2 separate regions of the Homo sapiens genome follow, and region 1 is linked to region 2. Evidence: promoter capture Hi-C in human tissues and cell types (Jung and others, 2019). All regions are on one chromosome and are shown on one strand. Each heading gives the region's core, a stretch centred on a gene start or on the middle of the fragment in contact. The rest is flanking DNA. Distances are from core to core; before and after follow the strand shown. Region 1 overlaps SRP68 (signal recognition particle 68). Region 2 holds the start of GALK1 (galactokinase 1).

Region 1 (5,173 bases), core at 301-2,800, 280 kb before region 2:
CCCAAAACCTTGAGATTGGAGGCATGAGCCACCATGCTGGCCAATATCTGCATTTTAACAAGATCCCCAGGCCATTTGGGGGTCTGTTAAAGCTAAGGAAATGCTTGATCTAAAGTACAGCCACAGGGCTGGATGCAGTGGCTCATGCCTGTAATCCCAGCAGTTTGGGAAGCTGAGGTGGGCAGATCACTTGAGGTAAGGAGTTCGAGACCAGCCTGGGCAACATGGCGAAACTCTGTCTCTACAAAAATAGAAAAAAATAGCCAGGTGTGGTGGTGCACACCTGTAATCCCAGCTACTTGAGAAGCTGAGGCAGGAGAATCACTTGAATCTGGGAGGCAGAGGTTGCAGTGAGCCAAGATCAAGCCACTGCACTCCAGCCTGAGTGACAGAGCAAGACTCCATCTCAAAATAAATAAATAAAGTGCAGCCATGGAAGGCTTTCTTTGCTTTACTTTTTTTTTTTTTTTTTTTTAAGATGGAGTCTCTGTCTCCTAGGCTAGAGTGCAGTGGCACGATCTCGGCTTGTGCCACCAAGCCCAGCTAATTTTTGTATTTTTAGTAGAGGGTTTCACCATGTTGGCCAGGCTGGTTTCAAACTCCTGACTTCAAGTGATCAAGCCTCTTGATCCGCTGACCTCAGCCTCCCAAAGTGCTAGGATTACAGGCGTGAGCCACTACTCCCGGTGCTTTACTGATTATTGAACGATAACTAGCTTCTTAAGCTTGTGGCGTGCTGTGATGGTATAGAACTTGTTGCAACATCAGCTGGTCTAAGGAATCCATGTATATTTGACAAGTAGAGACCATTTAGAAAAGCAAGCAGGGGCCGGGCACCGTGGCTCACGCCTGTAATCCCAGCACTGTGGGAGGCCGAGGCGGGCAGATCACGAGGTCAGGAGATCGAGACCATCCTGGCCAACATAGTGAAACCCCACCTCTACTAAAAATACAAAAAAATTAGCCGGGCATGGTGGCAGGCGCCTGTGGTCCCAGCTACTCGGGAGGCTGAGGCAGGAGAATGGCGTGAACGCGGGAGGCGGAGCTTGCAGTGAGCCAAGATCACGCCCCTGGGCGGCAACAGAGTGAGACTCCGTCTCAAAAAAAGAAAAAAAAAAGCAAGCAAAGGTTCCTGTCGTTGATGGAGTCACGCCAGCCAGTGTAGGAGCTGCTGGATCCCGTGCAAGCTCAGAGGGGTAGAGAAGAAGCTCTCTGCCTTCAGAGAGCTTGTAGTTTTGTTGTAGCCACAGACTGGCATGCAGGAGCCCACCTATGGATGCAGAAGAAATAAAAGAGACCCCAAGCAAAGGCAGAGCTAGAAAACAGCACAGGGATGTGGGCAGGTGGGAGTGACAGGCATGGCAGCGTCACCACCATGGAATATCATCTTGGGACGCGGGGCAAACCAGTGTGGACCTGATTTCATGTGCTGAATTGTTTTGTGGGGGAAGTGTCAGAATGGAGGCATGAAGGATTCTGTGGCATCCAGACCTTCTCAGGTCATTCCCAATATGCCAAGCAAGAGACCGAGGCCAGGAAAATTCATCACCCTCGTTGAAGCAGTGGGATGTAACGACTAAGGGCTTATGCCCTTGAGCCAGATGGCCCAGCCCTTTACCCCAGCCCGCTGCCACTTGGGCGCATGGCTGGCACATTGCTTAACCTCTCCATGCTTCCATTTTCTCATCTGTAAAATGGGAGTGCAAACTGCCTCAGGATTATTGAGAAGGTTAAGCTAGTGATTATGTAACCTGCTTAGAACAATGCCTGGCACACTGTTTAGTGTATGATAAATTTATTAATATTAACATCATCTTTATTTCCAGGCATTATTACTTAAGCCGTGGCATAGCTTTTCCCATTTGAAACAGGCTAGTGTTTTGCTTTGTTTTGTTTTGTTCTAATAGTGAGAACCGTTTAGAAAGTCTAAAGTCCTGTGAAAATACCAGTGGGGTCGGTTAACTCGGGTTAGCTTGGTGTGCTTCTCTGACCTGGCCCTGGCTCGGGAGTACACGTTTTCTGAATCTTACAGGACCTGCCTGATGTGCAAGAGCTCATCACTCAAGTGCGGTCAGAGAAGTGCTCCCTGCAGGCCGCAGCCATCCTTGGTGAGCCCCCTGCCTGGCCTTTGTATCCCCAGACTTCCCTTCCTGCCACTCCCCTTCTCTGTCACACCCCATACTACTGTTTTAAGGTTGAAAGGGTTGTCTTGGTTCATCTGTAAGATGTTCCTGGCCTTTACTTGTGCCAGCTGGGCATCAGATTGTGTAGAAGCATTTCGAGTGCACTGTTACACTGGCCCTTCTCCCTGTTACTGTCCTCATGCAACTGTGCTGGCTTCACTGGGCCGACGGCATTGGATCTGGGATTGATCTGTTTATCTCCACCACTTCTCAGCAGGAGACAGGCCTGGCTTCCCCACATGCTGGCTCCTTTTGCTTTTGGGATGTAGGGGCCACCTGTGTGATAGGCCTCATTTGTGATTAGTGTGCTATTATAAATCCTTGTTCTTACTGAATCCCTGTGAAACTTTCAGATGCAAACGACGCTCATCAAACAGAGACCTCCTCCTCCCAAGTCAAGGACAATAAGGTAAGTCTGGGCCATGGTTTTTGAGGAATACGAAGCAGGATTAGTAACAAACTAGGAATGCATGCTCATTATAGAGCAGTGGACCCTAAATTTCTAAGGAAACCCCCCACCTCCCTCCCTTCTCTTACCCAACCTCAAAGCTTCTTGCATAAAGCTTCCTAGATGTCAGATCATCCCTGGGAAGAGGGTTGAGGAACCTGTTGCTGTAAAGAGTAGCACCCGTGGGTAAGAGCTCTAACTCGTAACATGGCCAACAGGCCTGCACCCCAGTCCTAGCCTGCCACTCTCTTAGCCTCTCTGGGTTTCAGTGACTTTGACTACAAGGCAGGGATGTGGTAGCCCCTCCTCGTAGGAGGCTGTCGGGATTGAGTGATTGAGTGAGATGGCCCCTGTAAAGCTCTGAACCAGGCAGTCGGCACTCAGGAATGTTCACCAAGGGTGTTCTGTGACCGATGCTACATACGTCTCTTTGATTTGACTTCCAGCCTCTGGTTGAACGGTTTGAGACATTCTGCCTGGACCCTTCCCTTGTCACCAAGCAAGCCAACCTTGTGCACTTCCCACCAGGCTTCCAGCCCATTCCCTGCAAGCCTTTGTTCTTTGACCTGGCCCTCAACCATGTGGCTTTCCCACCCCTTGAGGACAAGTTGGAACAGAAGACCAAGAGTGGCCTCACTGGATACATCAAGGGCATCTTTGGATTCAGGAGCTAACCAGGCTCTTCCTCGGGGGCGGGGGAGATTCTGACTCTTAATCTGTATTGTGAGAAAATCCCAGCAAGTTCCATGATATTAAATCCAGGTCTGCATTGGCCCGGGGCAAGAGTTTAACATCTTCGGCCCTGCATTCCTACATCTTGTGTCTGTACACGTTCTTAAGCAGCGTGTCAGGAGAGCACCCTGTTGTCTTCTGGTAAATGTGTGCAGGGTCATCCTGTCTCCTGTACCTCCTGGGAAAGGGGCCGCTGCTGTCTGGTGCCCTGTGAGCTGTGATTGATTGCCTTTGGTCAGTAATGCGTTCAGGAGTCCACACCAGGCACAGATGGGGCCTTGAAACGCTTTGTCATGCTTCTTCAGTACCATGGATTTGAAATGAACTCATCCTTGCTGTGAGCATCCAGGAGCCCTTGAGAAGTTTATCTATGACTATGAAACTGGCAACGTCACCCCAGAATTACGGTCAGCCTTATTCCCCTTCACCTCCCAGTGAACGCTAAGAAGTTTCAGACAAGCAGAGAGCTCTATTTTTAGAAGAAATATGTTACACTCAGAAATGATGAAACCAAATCTTATATTAAAAGGCAAAGATGACGGAGACTGTGCCCATTTCTTATATGCCCTCCCTCATGTCCAGTCCCCGTTCTCTCCTCGGGAGCCTAGTTGCGTGAAGCCGGTGAGGTCAAGTGTAACCTGACTTACCGGCAACTAGGTGAGGCTGATGCCAGATACACATGTTAGAGGCACTATTTTTCAGGACTTCCCAATGTGTAATTTTTAGATGCCATTATATTTTAATCCCCTTCGTTACCCCCCGTTTTTCCTTAGTCATCCCTTTTCACTTCTATTATAACATCAATAATAGAAGTCACAAAAACAATGTAAGAAAGCAAGGAATAAAAGTGATTTAAACATGTACCTGACACTTAACGATTCCCTTTGGAAATCAAAACTCATCTGTCACATAGGAAAGAAAATTCGTCACAAGAAATGTTGGCTTAGATGTTTTCCGTTTTTGAGCAAACCCAGTGGCTTGAAGAAAAGGCTGACTGGTTAAAAATCCAAGAGCATTGTTTCAGGATGGCATTGTAACCCCCCGAGGGTTCTTGCCCGCTGCCCAGATGGAGTTGATTCATGGAAACAGGAATTGCAATAGAGAGTTTAGTTCACACACAGCCGTCTAAACAGGAGACTGGAGTTTATTACTCACATTGGTCTCCCTGAAAATTCAGAGACTGGGAATTTTAAGGATAATTTGGTGGGTAGGGGGTCAGGAAATGGGGAGTGCTGATTGGTCAGGTTGGAGATGAAGTCATAGGGAGTTGGAGATGAAGTCAGGGAGTTGGAGATGAAGTCATAGGGAGTTGAAGCTGGCCTCTTGTGCTGAGTCGGTTTCCTGGGTGGGGGCTACAAGACCAGATGAGCCAGTTTGGATGGATGGTGCCAGCTGATCCATAAAGTGCAGGGTCTGAAAAATATCTCGAGCACCATTCTTAGGTTTTACAACAGTGATGTCATCCCTAGGAGCAACTGGGAAGGTTCAGAATCTTGGGCCTCTGGCTGCATGACTCCTAAACCATAATTTCAATTTTTGTGGCTAATTCGTTAGTCCTACAAAGGCAGTCTGGGCCCCAGGCAAGAAGGGGGTTTATTTCCGGAAAGTGCTGTTACCATCTTTGTTTCAAAGTTAAACAGTAAACTGTAAGCTTCTCCCAAAGTGAGTTCGGCTTATTCCCAGGAATGAACAAGGACAGCTTGGAGGTTAGAAGCAAGATGGAGTGGGTTAGGCTAGACCTTTTTCACTCTAATAATCTCACCGTTAGAATTTTTGTAAAGGTGGTTTTAGAATGCCACTGTGGGCTTGG
Region 2 (5,270 bases), core at 2,683-5,182:
GAGTAGCTGGGATTACAGGCTTGTACCACCACACCGGGCTAATTTTTCTATTTTTTAGTAAAGATGGGGTTTCACTATGTTGGCCGGGCTGGTCTTGAACTCCTGACCTCAAGTGATCCACCCGCCTCGGCCTCCCAAAGTGCTGGGATTACATGCATGAGCCACCGTGCCCGGCTAATTTTTGATTTTTTTGGAGAGATGAGGTCTCCCTTTGTTGCCCAGGCTGGTCTTGAACTCCTGGTCTCAAGCGATTTGCCCACCTCAGCCTCCCAGTGTTGGGATTACAGGCGTGAGCCACCACACCTGGGCCCCATTCTTTTCTTAACAGCTTTATTGAGATATAATACATACCATATAATTCACCCATTTAAAACATAAAATTCAACAGTTTAGGATATTCACAGGCATGTGCAACCATCACCACAGTCCATTTTAGAACATTTTCCTTACCACAGAGAAACCTGCCATCCTTTGGCTCTGACCCTGCTATTCCCTCAGGCCTAAGCAACCGCTAATTAACTTTCCATCTGTAGAGATTTGCCGATTCTGGATATACAACAGGTGGTCTTGTGTGACTGGCTTCCTTCACTCACCATAATATTTTCAAAGTTCATTCTTTTTTTTTTTTTTTTGAGACGGAGTTTTGCGCTGTCACCTGGGCTGGAGTGCAGTGGCACGATCTCTGCTCACTGCAAGCTCCGCCTCCCAGGTTCACGCCATTCTCCTGCCTCAGCCTCCCGAGTAGCTGGGACTACAGGTGCCCGCCACCACGCCCAGCTAATTTTTTTCTTGAAGGCTCCATCCATGTTGTTACACGTATCAGTACTTCATTTCTTTTTATGGATTAATATTTCTATTGTATAGATACATCACTTGTTTTTTTTTCCCGAGACCAAGTCTCACTATGTCACCTAGGCTGGAGTGCAGTGACGAGATCTCGGTTCACTGCAAACTCCACCCCCCGGGTTCAAGTGATTCTTGTGTCTCAGCCTCCCGAGTAAGCTGGCATTACACATGTGCGCCACCATGCCTGGCTAATTTTTGTGTTTTCAGTAGAGATGGGGTTTCACCATGTTGGCCAGGCTGGTCTGGTCTTGAACTCCTGCTCTCAAGTGATCCGCCTACCTCGGTCTCCCAAAGTCTGGGATCACAGGCATGAACCACCACATCTGACATTTGAGCATCTTTTCATGTGCTTATTGGCCATTTGTATTTATATTATTTGGAAAAATGTCTCTTGAAATCTTTTGCTTTTTTTTTTTCTTCTTTGACACAGGGTCTCTCACCTTCTGAGTAGCTGGGACCACAGGTGTGTGCCACCCAACCTGGCTAATTTTTTTTTTTTTTTTTGTAGCAGTGAGGTCTTCCCACGTTGCCCAAGTTGGTCTCAAACTCCAAGCCCCTGAGATATACATGATTTGCAAGTACTTTCTTCCATTCTGTGAGTTGTCTTTTCACTTTCTTGACAATGTTCTTGTCAGGCCTCTGAGCCCAAGCTAAGCCATCATAGCCCCCGTGACCTGCACGTATACATCCAGATGGCCTGAAGCAACTGAATATCCACAAAAGAAGTGAAAATAGCCTTAACTGATGACATTCCACCACTGTGATTTGTTCCTGCCCCAACCTAACTGATCAATGTACTTTGTAATCTCCCCCACCCTTAAGAAGGTTCTTTGTAATTCTCCCCACCCTTGAGAATGTACTTTGTGAGATCCATCCCTGCCCGCAAAACATTGCTCCTAACTCCACCACCTATCCCAAAACCTATAAGAACTAATGATAATCCCACCACCCTTTGCTTACTCTTTTCAGACTCAGCCCGCCTGCACCCAGGTGAAATAAACAGCCTTGTTGCTCACACAAAGCCTGTTTGGTGGTCTGTTCACACGGACACGCGTGACAGTTCTTTGTTGCAGAAAAATATTTCACTTTGATGAAGTACAGTTTATTTTTCTGTTGTCACTTGTGCTTTTGATGTCATATCTAAAAAACCATTGCCTGGCCGCATTGGCTCACACCTGTATCCCAGCACTTTGGGAGGCTGAGGCAGGCAAATCACTTGAGGTCAGGAGTTCAAGAGCAGCCTGGCCAACATGGTGAAACCCTGCTTTTACAAAAATTATCCAGGCATGGTGGAGGGTGCCTGTAATCCCAGTTACTGGGGAGGCTGAGGCAGGAGAATCGCTTGAACCTGGGAGGCGGAGGTTGCAGTGAGCCAAGATCGCGCCACTGCACTCCAGCCTGGGTAACAGAGCAAGATCTGTCTAAAATAAATAAATACGTAAATAAATAAAAATAAAAAAACATGACTAGGTGTGGTGGCTAACGCCTGTAATCCCAGCACTTTGGGAGGCCAAGGTGGGTGGATCACCTGAGGTCAGGAGTTTGAGACCAGCCTGGCTAACCTGGTGAAACCCCAGTCTCCACTAAAAATACAAAAAATTAGCCGGGCATGGTGGCACGTGCCTGTAATCCCAGCTACTCCGGAGGCTGAGGCAGGAGAATCGCTTGAACCCGGGAGGCAGAGGTTGCAGTAAGCTGAGATCACGCCATTGCACTCCAGCTTGGACAACGAGAGCGAAACTCCGTCTCAAAAACAGAAACCAAATAAACATTTCCTAACCAATGTCACAAAACTGTACCCCTATGTTTTCTTCTAAGAGTTTTCAGAATTGCCCTTGGAATGCAGTTCCCCACTCTTTGGGCACACCCCTGAGCAGGCCCCAAGCTAAATCCCTGGCCATAACTCCCCACACTACTCCCACCCTAACCCCAAGCAAGCTGCTTACATTTCAGTCTTTCAGTTTCAAGGTTCCATGTAGGGTGGGCAGCTGTGGACAGGTATCAAGGCAGCAGTTGGGGCCGGCCAGCAGGTTTAGGATGCAGGATAGCAAGAGAAGAGTGCCTGACTGGGAACAAGGCCACGCCTCTGAGACAAGGGCTTCTGGGCTGAAGTAGTGCCTGCTGGGGCCAACAGCACAACCTACCTGGACAGCTGTGGCAGGTCCTTAAGGGAGGGGCTGGGCCCACTGCTGGCCACCGCCACCCTAGTCCAATTCTCCATTGCTAGGAGCTGTTGCGTATTACCTAGAAAAGGAGCTTGTAAAATTGACTCTCTGGTCACCACCAAACTTGTCTTTTTTTTTTTTGAGACAGAGTTTTGCTCTTGTTGCCCAGGCTGGAGTGCAATGGTGTGATCTCAGCTCACCGAAACCTCCGCCTCCCAGGTTCAAGTGATTCTCCTGCCTCAGCCTCCCGAGTAGCTGGGATTACAGGCATGAGCCACCATGCCCAGCTAATTTTGTATTTTTTAGTAGAGATGGGGTTTCTCCATGTTGGTCAGGCTGGTCTCCAACTCCCGACCTCAGGTGATCTGCACACCTCGGCCTCCCAAAGTGCTGGGATTACAGGCGTGAGCCACTGCGCCCGGCCCAAACTTGTCTGTCTTTATCTCTACTTACAGTGAGTGTCAGGTCACCCTCTTGGAGACCGGTGATCAGAGGCTGATGACCTCTCACAGCTGCTGGCCCTGGGGACCTAGGGGATCCCTTTGGGAATCCCAGGTCAACCGGGTGCCAGCTCCATTGCTCTGGCTGTGTGGGTGGTGGTGGGTGGTGAGGCACATAGAAAGTCACCAGCGCCAGGGAAGGGCAGCTCAGAAATCCTGGTCATGCCAAGTGCCACTCAGGGCTATTCTCACTCTAGTGAGTGCTCATTGGTTCTTCCCGAAGTCCAGAGGGAAGGACACCATCGGGGGCGCTGTATCCCACCCGGCACCATTAGCCCCTGCCACCCACCACCCAGCAGCTGGATTCCCACGGGAGTTGCGGGTGGGGGCGGAACCGGCTGAGGTCTGGGGGCGGGGCGTCCGGGCGCGGGGCGGGGCTGGCGGGAATGTGCGCACCCCCGCGCGGGGCCCCGCCCGAGCATCCCGCGCCGACGGGGCTGTGCCGGAGCAGCTGTGCAGAGCTGCAGGCGCGCGTCATGGCTGCTTTGAGACAGCCCCAGGTCGCGGAGCTGCTGGCCGAGGCCCGGCGAGCCTTCCGGGAGGAGTTCGGGGCCGAGCCCGAGCTGGCCGTGTCAGCGCCGGGCCGCGTCAACCTCATCGGGGAACACACGGACTACAACCAGGGCCTGGTGCTGCCTATGGTGAGGGGCTGCACGGGGAGCCCCTAGCCCGCCGCCGCCTGTCCCGGCCGCCGAGGAGGGCGGGCCTCGGGGACGCTGGGGGCGAGTTCTTCCCGCGGGAGATGTGGGGCGGGCAGCTGCGCCTGGAGCACCGGTGCACGGAAGAGTCCCCGGGACAGGCTGTTCCCCACGTTGGAAGGGAGGAAGCGAGGAAGTGGCCGGGAGAGGGTGCGCGGCCGCCTCTTGGCTCAAGCCCGCCCTCTGGGGGCTGGGGCTCCTCGCCTTCAACCTGGGAGCATGTTCCCCTTAAACTGTGAGGCCCTGTGTGCCACGCAGAAGGGGACACTCCGCGCCTCCGGCCACCGTGGGGCCCCAACCGCAGACCTGGGCGAACGTAGCCTTCTGGCCCAGCCCGTTCAATTTACAGAGGAGGAAACTGAGGCCTAGAGAGGCCCAGTGAACTGCTGGAGGTCACACAGCAGGTTCTTGGCGGGGCTGCGACTTGGGAGTGAGGACTCCCAGCTTTCAGCGGGGGGCGCTTTCCGCCCCATCTGCAGCTTGGGGAGTGCACAGGTACAGGATGTCCAGAGCCACCCCAAAATGTAAAGGCTTTGGAGCTCCAGTGATCTGTTTTCCCTTTGGGCTAGCTCTCCCCCTTGCCCCACAGCTCAGGGCAGAGTCCAGGTCTGTGCTCCAGCTGCAGCCGCCCCGCCCCTGAAGACCTAAGGGGGCAGGGCTCAAGCCCCCAAGGTCAGCTGGCCCTCAGGATCTTCCCTGCGACGCTGAACCTGGAGGTTCAGAACCTGATGACTGTGGAGGCATCAGAACCTCGGCTGGAGGCAGTGTCATTGGAGAGGCTTACTCCAGCTGGCGGAAGCCTCACGTACTGCTTGTCTCTCCTGCCAGGCTCTGGAGCTCATGACGGTGCTGGTGGGCAGCCCCCGCAAGGATGGGCTGGTGTCTCTCCTCACCACCTCTGAGGGTGCCGATGAGCCCCAGCGGCTGCAGTTTCCACTGCCCACAGCCCAGCGCTCGCTGGAGCCTGGGACTCCTCGGTGGGCCAACTATGTCAAGGGAGTGATTCAGTACTACCCAGGTATGGGGCCCAGGCCTGAGCCAAGTCCTCACTGATACTAGGA

What was found. Contacts are between HindIII fragments. The study calls those that stand out against the background at their distance.
Region 1: a fragment that was not itself captured here is called in contact with the fragment with the promoter of GALK1 in region 2 in 1 of the 25 tissues and cell types used here (spleen).

The regions. Positions count from the first base shown.
Region 1 is chr17:76,037,838-76,043,010 of GRCh38, reverse strand. It overlaps SRP68 (signal recognition particle 68), which reads left to right. Exons shown (of 16, transcript NM_014230.4): 14 at 2,033-2,108; 15 at 2,537-2,592; 16 at 3,078-4,226. The coding sequence ends at 3,305. Among named protein-coding and RNA genes, the nearest start is that of EVPL, 13 kb to the right of the region's middle. RefSeq lists enhancers at 1,450-2,151, 2,152-2,853. The HindIII fragment of the contact is 4,661 bases long and covers 1-3,880 here.
Region 2 is chr17:75,763,854-75,769,123 of GRCh38, reverse strand. GALK1 (galactokinase 1) reads left to right here and starts at 3,932. Exons shown (of 8, transcript NM_000154.2): 1 at 3,932-4,152; 2 at 5,038-5,227. The coding sequence starts at 3,988. RefSeq lists silencers at 3,768-3,957, 4,188-4,337 and enhancers at 4,448-4,677, 4,708-4,917. The HindIII fragment of the contact is 26,637 bases long and covers 1-5,270 here.